3 separate regions of the Homo sapiens genome follow, and all the other regions are linked to region 1. The links are contacts of gene promoters, found by promoter capture Hi-C in blood cells and fetal thymus (Javierre and others, 2016). All regions are on one chromosome and are shown on one strand. Each heading gives the region's core, a stretch centred on a gene start or on the middle of the fragment in contact. The rest is flanking DNA. Distances are from core to core; before and after follow the strand shown. Region 1 holds the start of PTER (phosphotriesterase related). Region 2 holds the start of TRDMT1 (tRNA aspartic acid methyltransferase 1). Region 3 has its middle 38 kb from the start of MINDY3.

Region 1 (2,835 bases), core at 183-2,682:
GCGTGGTGGTGTGCACCTGTGGGAGACTGAGCTGGGAGGATCACTTGAACGGGGGAAGTGAAGGTTGCAGTGAGCTGTGATAGCACCACTGCACTCCAGCTTTGGTGAAATAATGAGACCTAGTCTTAAAAAGCAAGAGGCCGGGCGCGGTGGCTTACGCCTGTAATCCCAGCACTTTAGGAGGCCGAGGTGGGTGAATCACAAGGTCAGGAGTTCGAGATCAGCCTGGCCAGTATGGTGAAACCCCGTCTCTACTAAAAATACAAAAATTAGCTGTGTGTGGTGGAGCGCGCCTGTAGTCCCAGCCACTCAGAAGGCTGAGGCAAGAGAATCGCTTGATCCCGGGAGGCGGAGGTTGCAGTGAGCCGAGATCGCACCACTGCACTCCAGCCTGGGCAAGGGCGAGACTCTGTCTTTAAAAAAAGCAAAAGAAAACCAACTTGTAGAAAGTCACTGAGCTGGAACCAGAACTAGAATAGGGCTCTACTCTTTCTGGGTCCAAAGTTCTTTAAATCAGCAACCCCTCTTACTGCCTATGTAAGGGTATACCTTTAGTTCCTGTTGACTTGGGATGTACAAAGAATGAGGTAGTCTAAGAGAGTAACAGCACACTGGCTGTGGAGTCAGAAAGACTCCACCTCTAAACTTTGTTTCCATCTCTAAACTTTCCAGCAGTGTGGCCTAATTTTTCTGTACCTTAGCTTTGTCGTTATCACTAGAATCCTTCACAGGGCTGCAGAGTGGATTAAGCAAGAGTGCACAGGACTCAGACATATGACCGCTGGTAATTGGCTTTTATAAACTGTCAAAAAATATAGACCTGTAATGCCAGCACTTTGGGAGGCCGAGGCAGCAGACTGATTGAGCCCAGGAGTTCGAAACCAGCCTGGGCAACATGGCGAGACACTCTCTACAAAAAATACAAAAATAACCGGACATGGTGGCACGTGCCTGTAGTCGCAGCTACTCAGGAAGCTCAGGAGGCTGAGGCAGGAAGTTCGCTTGAGCTCAGGAGGTCGAGGCTGCAGTGAGCTGTGATCGCGCCAAATGCACTCTAGCCTGGGAAGCAGAGCCAGACCCTGAATCTAAAAAAAAAAAAAAAAAAAAGCTTATTAAAGGAGGCTTAGCACAGCTACCCGATGACGCCCCCGGGCATTGCTGTCGAGCCACAGGGAGCTGGCGCCACACGGGACTGGCGCTCTTTGCAACGTCCCTCAAGCACTTAAGGAGAGGCGGCAGGGCCCAAGCGCAGCGGCTAGAAAATCCTTCCTTCCGGCAGGACCCTCGCGTGGAGCTCTGCAGCGAACCCTGGCCGCGCGGCCTCCGCCGTCGGGCCCCACTCTTCCTACTGGGCCCACAGTTCCGGCTCCTGCTCTGACTCCAAGAAGCCTTACCTCGGGTACAACGCGCTGCCTTCTCCCTGGGAACTTCCGGCAGGCCAACTTCCCTGGCCTTTTTAGTCTCCCCTGTGCCCTCCCACTTCGCCCTCTGGTTCTCTCCCCGCCCCTGGCCCGAGGTCACGCCCTCACCGAGTCCTAGGACACGCCCCGTGGGTCCTTGCCAAGCCCTACCTCTTCGTAGGACACGCCCTTCAAACCCTTGCCACGCCCCACCCTGGTCCGGGGCCGTTCCCCGCGTTTTTGCCTGGCCACACCCTCCTGCAGGCGCTGTCTGACTGTCGGTAGTTTGGCTGAATGAAAAAAATTCGGGGCTAGATCCCCAAACGGAAAGAAACTGTTGCATTTTCCCCAGATCCCAGTTCTCCATAGAACAGTCTGGAACAAGGGAGCATTCCGTAGCTCTTTTGGTTTTCCCCAAGAATAAATCGGAGGTGGTGCTCTGGCAATTTGATGTCACAGTGGGTTCTGGATCCTCATGCTGCATACGGAGAACTTTGGTTTTTGTGTTCCCACTTGTCACTGTTTCCTGCCCCGGTGCCGCGTTTCCTTCTCTTTAGAATTAGAGTGCCGTGCTAGAGCACTTGAACTGGCCCTGGTACTTGCTGTGACTGAAATAAACTTAGTATGTGTGAGTCTGTTGGCAAAACATGATGCTTGGAGCAGCTGCCACAGTAAAGAGTCATACCTTTAGGTATTGTAGGGGGCCAAGGGCAAACCTCTCCTTCGTCCTCTGAAAGTTTGCTGAAAATCAACTGACAAAAGACAGTTTCACAGTAGAAAAGGCATACAAATATACTAGATCGTAACTTTATGTGATCCGGGAGCCTTCAGAATGAAAACCCAAAGATGCAGGGGAAACGGTCCATTTTTTCGCTTAGGTTCAATAAAGTATGGACCGCCATGTATTCAGCTGGTGCAAAAGTAATTGCGGTTTTTAATGGCAAAAACCGCAATTACTTCTGCACCAACCTAAGAGATACTACGATGGCATAAAAAGGGTCTGAGCTAATGCCAATAGACTAAGTGAGCAAGCCCTGTCTGTTTAGATTCTTTTTGGCTTTTCTGTGCAGTGTTCCTTCCTTCTGGGTATAGAGCAGGATCCTTTCTGGAATGGGGGTCTTATGACCTACAGTCAAACAAAGCAGGGCAGAGAATTTCTTTACCGCCAGTTTTGACACAGAAAGGCAGGGGACACGCAGAGTCAAACTTTTAGGTTTTATGCTTGGCTTTGGGGATGAGGGGTTCTGGCTTCTGTGAATCACCTTGGGGAAGAGGGATTCCAGTTTCTAGAATGAGGGGCCAGAGGCAGGAGGACATGAGGTTAGAGAGAGCTGCTTCTAAGGCCTTCATTTTGGGGTATCATTTTCTGAACCCCAACCATATTACACTGTCATCAATTATTATTATTATTATTTTGAAATGGCTCTGTTGCCCA
Region 2 (2,835 bases), core at 93-2,592, 760 kb before region 1:
CATGACTCTAGTATAGCATCACATGAAAGATAGCAGGCCCTAAATCAAAGCATTTTACCCTAAAATAAATTTCTTTGACACTTTTTGAAATGGCCCTACACAGCCATCTCTTGTGGGGAAAATCTACATTCTATAGAGACTCCCTTTCCCTTTCCAGGTCTTTTCCTGATCCAAGAGATATTTAACTAAGAGTCTGGCATCTTTTTACACATGATAAGAGACATTTGCCAATTATTCTCTCTGAAGCCTGTTACGTATGAGACTTCGTCTACATAATAAGAACCTTGGTCTCCACCTTATCTTAACCCAGACACATTCCTTTCTATTGATTCCAGGTCTTTAGGTCACAACTTAACTCTTTCAACCAACTGCCAATCAGAAAATCTTTGAATCCACCTGTAACCTGGAATCCTTCCCCTTTTTGAGTTGTCCCATCTTTATGGACCAAACTAAGTACACCTTCCATATACCAGTTAATGTCCTTATGTCTCCCTAAAACCATATAATCCCAAGCTGTAGCCCAACCACCTTGGGTACATGTTGTCAGGACCCTGTGGGGTTGTGTCATGGGTCACGGTCCTCACCTTGTGCTCAGAATAAACCTCTTCAAACATTTTACGGAGTTTGGCTTTTTTCGTCAACATGAGCCTCTAACAGTTGGTTACTGGATCATCCTGAGGAATCAAGGCCATAGCACTTAAAGACCCATAAATAATCCTACATGATATTCACTGTGTATTCTATGTAGGTGTAATTTCCAAGCTAAAACATAATTAACCCCACTAATAGACACAACAAACATCCTCTGTATTATCAGCACGCACACAGGGCTTTCTCTGCTGCGAGTGGACTTGTGTCCTTACTTATAATTCTGGAATCTTCTCTAGGGGAGAGGCTGGTCTAATTTCTCTCTATTGACCCAGGGCAGGCAGGAAACAAGGCACACTGTGGAAAGAATGTTTGAATGTTCAGGCTTCTAAGTGACAGAAAAGCAGCTTGTCTGAAAAATGATTTTTTTCTGGCTTCTAACCAGTGTTAATTCACTTGGAAACCAAGGCAGTTTTCTCCCCTTTACTGAACTCTGGATTTCTTTTCCAATCAAGGCCCCTGACACCAAAGAAGGAAATGGAGCGTAAATCAGGCTACAGAGTGGCTGCCATTCATTCGGGAAGCCTTATTGTTTTCCGTCCTTTGTTCCCCTCTAGACCCTTGCCAATCCCCAGGCCGCGAGGCCCTCTGAAGCCCTGAGCCTGGAGCGGTAGGAGACGGGGGAACTGAAACGCCGCGGAACCAGAGGCTGAGGGAGCGGCGCGATGGAGGGAGGAGGAGCGACGGACCGGCAGGCCTAGCTCCGGGGCTGCGGCGGCTGAGGCGCGGGGATGGAGCCCCTGCGGGTGCTGGAGCTATACAGCGGCGTGGGCGGCATGCACCACGCGCTGAGAGGTGAGAGTCCATCTAGCACCCCTCTCTCTATTCGCTCACGGGGGCTGGTTGGAGCACCCGCGCCGGGAAGGGGCGGAGCGGCGAGACGCAAGGGGCGGACACTGTGGGGCGGACACTGTGGGGCGGCCCTCGGTTGTCCTGGAAACAGCTCCTGCGCGCCGCCGTGTCCACCCCTCCAGACGCTGACTCCCTTCTCCTGGCGCCGAGTCTGGCTCGAGGGGCCGCACATGGCGCCTCAAAGGGCCCAGTTGGGAGTCGGGATTCGCAAGGCAGTAAATCAACCTCAAAGGGTATCAAAGGGGCGAGACCCTCGCCTGGTGCCAAGCCCCCATTCTAAGTGTGCAGCCACCGAGAAGCATGGAGACTCGGTCCTTCATCCTGGGGGGCTTCCCAGCTGGGGAGGGAGGGAGTGTCAGGGGCTCCCCTGGTGAGAGATGGATCTTGGAAGGGATAATAGCTACAATTCAAGGTAGAAGTTTGCGAATGCTAAATAGGATGGTAGAGGAAGCTTGAAGAACTTGGACGTCTGATCGTTGGAAAGAAACGTGTCTTCTGTAGTTCTGCGTTTAGATGCCAGAGAACTGAGTTCCAGCTTGGTGGCAGTGTGACGTTGGGCTACTTCGTGAACAGTGATGAACCTGTTTCCTGGTTTTAAAAGAGAATGATTATTATAAGGATTAAAGTCTGTCAAGTGCTTGTTAGTGCCTGATACATTGTAACCACTCCAAATATTATACATTATTATCACTATTACTTTAAAACGACATCACGAGATATTATCAAGCAAACTATTACTTTTATGCACGTCTTTGATTTTGAGGTTTTTGATTTCTTTCATGCTGAGTTGGAACTGAAAGTTTTACTTTTGGTGATATTCACTCAAAATTATTTATTGAGCTCCTATTCTGTGCCAGATTTTGTGCTAGGAGCTGGGGATACAGAATGACAAACAGGCTTTGAAGGTGCATGTTTATTCTTAAATTACTAAGACAACCACCGAACTGAAACTTCCCTGCTTCCTTATTTAGGACCAAGAGTAACAAGAGTAACTGTAAGATACAGACAATATTTAATGGGTTTAGCGTATAAGTTTTTTGAGCAGATTTATTGAGTTTCAATTCTAGACTAGGTTAATGATCATTAAGTTTTTAGTACTTGTTTGCCGGCTATCTTTATTTCTCATTTTAAAACTTAGCAGCATCAAAGCAAAACTCTAGTACTATTTACTCTTTGTTAATTCTCTAAAGTGATATAATGTCCGCGTTTTCCCATATCTTGAAACTCCTTAATGAATTGCTTAGTACTTTATCATAAGCTGTAATTCAGCCATTCCTTAAGTGTCGAATATTTAGATCATTCTTCAGTTTTTTTGCAAGTACAGTGTGCTACAGT
Region 3 (2,835 bases), core at 214-2,713, 540 kb after region 1:
ATATCACAGCCAGGTAGGTAAGTAAGAACTCTAGGATGACCTGACTCATTCATGGCTGGATTCTTTTCATAGGGTCTCCCAGTACCGAAACCACGGTATCAGCCGGTTGGTCTATTATTTGGAGTATATGGAAGAATCCACGTCTAAACTCATCCAGATTGTTGGCAGAAGTGGAGGTCCCCGTTTCCTTGCTGGCTATCAGCTGGAAGCCACTCTCAGCTCCTAGAGGCCACCTGCATTCCTTGGCCTCTAGGAGCTGGGAGTGGTCCCATCCATCTTTGAAACCAGCAAAGATGCATCAAATCCCTTTCCAAGCTTTGGATCCCTGATTCGTTTCACCAGTCCATTAAAACTTGGCTTTTAAAGGGGTTCATGTAATTAGATTTTCTCCCTTTTTGCCGTATAATATAATAGAATTTATAATCATGGGAGTGGTATCTCATCATATGCATATTTTCCACGGCACTCAAATGGAATAGAATTACACAAAGGTAAGGACTATTGGGGTCTTCTCTAGAATTCTGCCTACTGCATGCCAAGTGTGTTACTTAGTTGGTAGTTATGCTATATATTAAAAGAAGATAGAACATGGCCAGGTGCAGTGGCTCACACCTGTAATCCCAGCACTTTCGGAGGCTGAGGCGGGCGGATCACCTGAGATCAGGAGTTCGAGACCAGCCTGACCAACATGGAGAAACCACGTCTCTACCAAAAATACATAAATTAGCCGGGCATGGTGGCACATGCCTGTAATCCCAGCTACTTGGGAGGTTGAGGCAGAAGAATTGCTTGAACCTGGGAGGCAGAAGTTGTGGTGAGCCGGGATCATACCATTGCACTCCAGCCTGGGCAACAAGAGTGAAACTTCGTCTCAAAAAAAAAAAAAAAAAGAGAGAAGAAGATAGAACATATACTTATTAATTTAACAAACATCTATAGCACTCCATGTACCAGATGCGATTACTACAAAGATTAATAAACCATAGTCCCTGCCCCCAAGGAGATTGACTTATAAATATGTCTTTACTGTGGTGAGTGCAAGAATGGAGAACTCTTGAAGATATAAGAGATGTGTCTGAAACTTGACATGGGACCCAGATGGGTACTAGCACGAGATACTAAAATCTAAGCAGCATATCAGATGGTAGAGGGCCTTGCACATCATGCTAAGGGATTTGGTTGTATTCTGTAGTTGATACAGAGCCCTTGGTAGTTATCAAGCAAGGGAATGGCATGAGATTCCTGCAAACAGCAGCCATCCAGACATTGACAATGTCACTAGCAATAAATAGTATAATACCAGCTTCAGCATATGCAGACTGACTCACTATTATCCTTACTGTTTGGGGAGAAGCAAATTCTAACGACCTAGTGGCCAAAAATATTAGTGCAATTTTCAAAGGAACCTAATTTGTTAACTCAACCATCATCTCGGCACTGAGAAAATCTGACTCAACCCGGCATCTCTTCCATCGATATTCTGTGACAAATTTCTAATTCACCATAATCTACTATGTCATCCTTCCAAACTTTCATGACTTTCCCACCCACCCTCTGCCAGGCTTTTCAACTACCCACAAAAAAAAAGATTTTTTTATAGACTAGAATTGAAGTTTTGCACACATTTGTTTTTTAAAAAGCTGCACATTTTTTACCTGCTGTTGCTTCCTGAGAAAAGGTTACAGGAATCTCAAGTAAATTTTAATGAGTTGGCTTCTTGGGTCTCAGAACTGATTTATGTAGGGAAGCATTTGAGATTTTGTAGTAAGTGCATGGTTGACATGAATTATCACGTAGGTGTACACCATTCCACATACATAGTCCTCTTAGTTTAAAGAGTGTCCAAGTTACAGAAACAGAATAATTTTTAAATGTCACTGTTGGATCTCTGCTAACTACAAAGAACTAAGTATTTAGAAAATCAAATTTCTGCCTCCTAGAAGTGACTCATCATTAACTTCTTGTCAGAGGAATATATTGTTTAAAAAAATAATAAATGCGGAGCAGGAACGACTATTTCCTGATTAAGAGGAGAAGAAAAAAAATCAAGTAACTCCCTTTGCATGACTGTCCCTACTCATGAGTCCATCCTGTTCTCCCTCCTGTTAGCAGACATGTGTATGACTCATGAGATTCTATTTGAAGTTTCAGCTCTGCTACTTTCCTCGTAGAGTAGCATTTTCTGGCAAAATCTATGAGGTAATGAAATGGAGAAGCCTGAGCTTTCAAGATTCCTGACTACCAAGAAGACAGGTCAACATTTTTAAACAGGAAGGCTCAAAAATCAAAATAGTAATATTTAAAGGAACATAATGTCATCTCCCCTAAATATTTTAAAAATCCATACCACGATAAGGTAATGGGAAGTTTTAGGGCTTCTATAAATTAACTTCTGAAATATCTAAATTCCTCAAAAAGAATTTTTATTCAATTAAAAAAAATGCTTCTTAACACCTACCATGTTCAGGCAGGATACTCTGCATGGGAAATACAATGTCGAATGAAGCGCCTTGTCAAATTCTATTTTAACCATAGGGTGTGGGGAGTTTATATCCTGGGAAACCTTCAAATATCAACCCCCCACCCATGCATTGCAACCATGGAAGCTTTACTGATCTTCCCAGCTGAGGTAGAAGGTAGGTGGGGCTTGACTCTGGAACAGATTGAAGACTGGCCAAAACCTGGAAGAGGCACAAAAAACACCTTTCCATAAGACACACCTACCAGCGCCATGACAGTTTACCATCACCATGGCAACACCCAAAAGTTACTGCCTATTTTCTAGCTATTTCCTGAACAACACACCTTTTCATTAGCATGAAGTGGGTATTAACA

The links. The method cuts DNA at HindIII sites, captures the fragments that hold promoters and counts their contacts. A CHiCAGO score of 5 or more calls a contact.
Region 2: the fragment with the promoter of TRDMT1 here is called in contact with the fragment with the promoter of PTER in region 1 in 4 of 17 cell types (non-activated CD4 T cells, total B cells, total CD8 T cells and 1 more); the score reaches 9.8 in non-activated CD4 T cells.
Region 3: a contact is called between a fragment that was not itself captured here and the fragment with the promoter of PTER in region 1, in 1 of 17 cell types (endothelial precursors). The highest score is 6.0, in endothelial precursors.

Annotation. Positions count from the first base shown.
Region 1 is chr10:16,435,607-16,438,441 of GRCh38, reverse strand. It overlaps PTER (phosphotriesterase related), which reads right to left and starts at 1,432. Exons shown (of 5, transcript NM_001261836.2): 1 at 1,395-1,432. RefSeq lists enhancers at 838-887, 908-1,087 and a silencer at 1,508-1,557. The HindIII fragment of the contact is 4,684 bases long and covers 1,111-2,835 here.
Region 2 is chr10:17,200,179-17,203,013 of GRCh38, reverse strand. TRDMT1 (tRNA aspartic acid methyltransferase 1) reads left to right here and starts at 1,342. Exons shown (of 11, transcript NM_004412.7): 1 at 1,342-1,443. The coding sequence starts at 1,380. RefSeq lists a silencer at 1,645-1,704. The HindIII fragment of the contact is 5,194 bases long and covers 1-1,953 here.
Region 3 is chr10:15,896,763-15,899,597 of GRCh38, reverse strand. No RefSeq gene overlaps it. Among named protein-coding and RNA genes, the nearest start is that of MINDY3, 38 kb to the right of the region's middle. The HindIII fragment of the contact is 2,291 bases long and covers 318-2,608 here.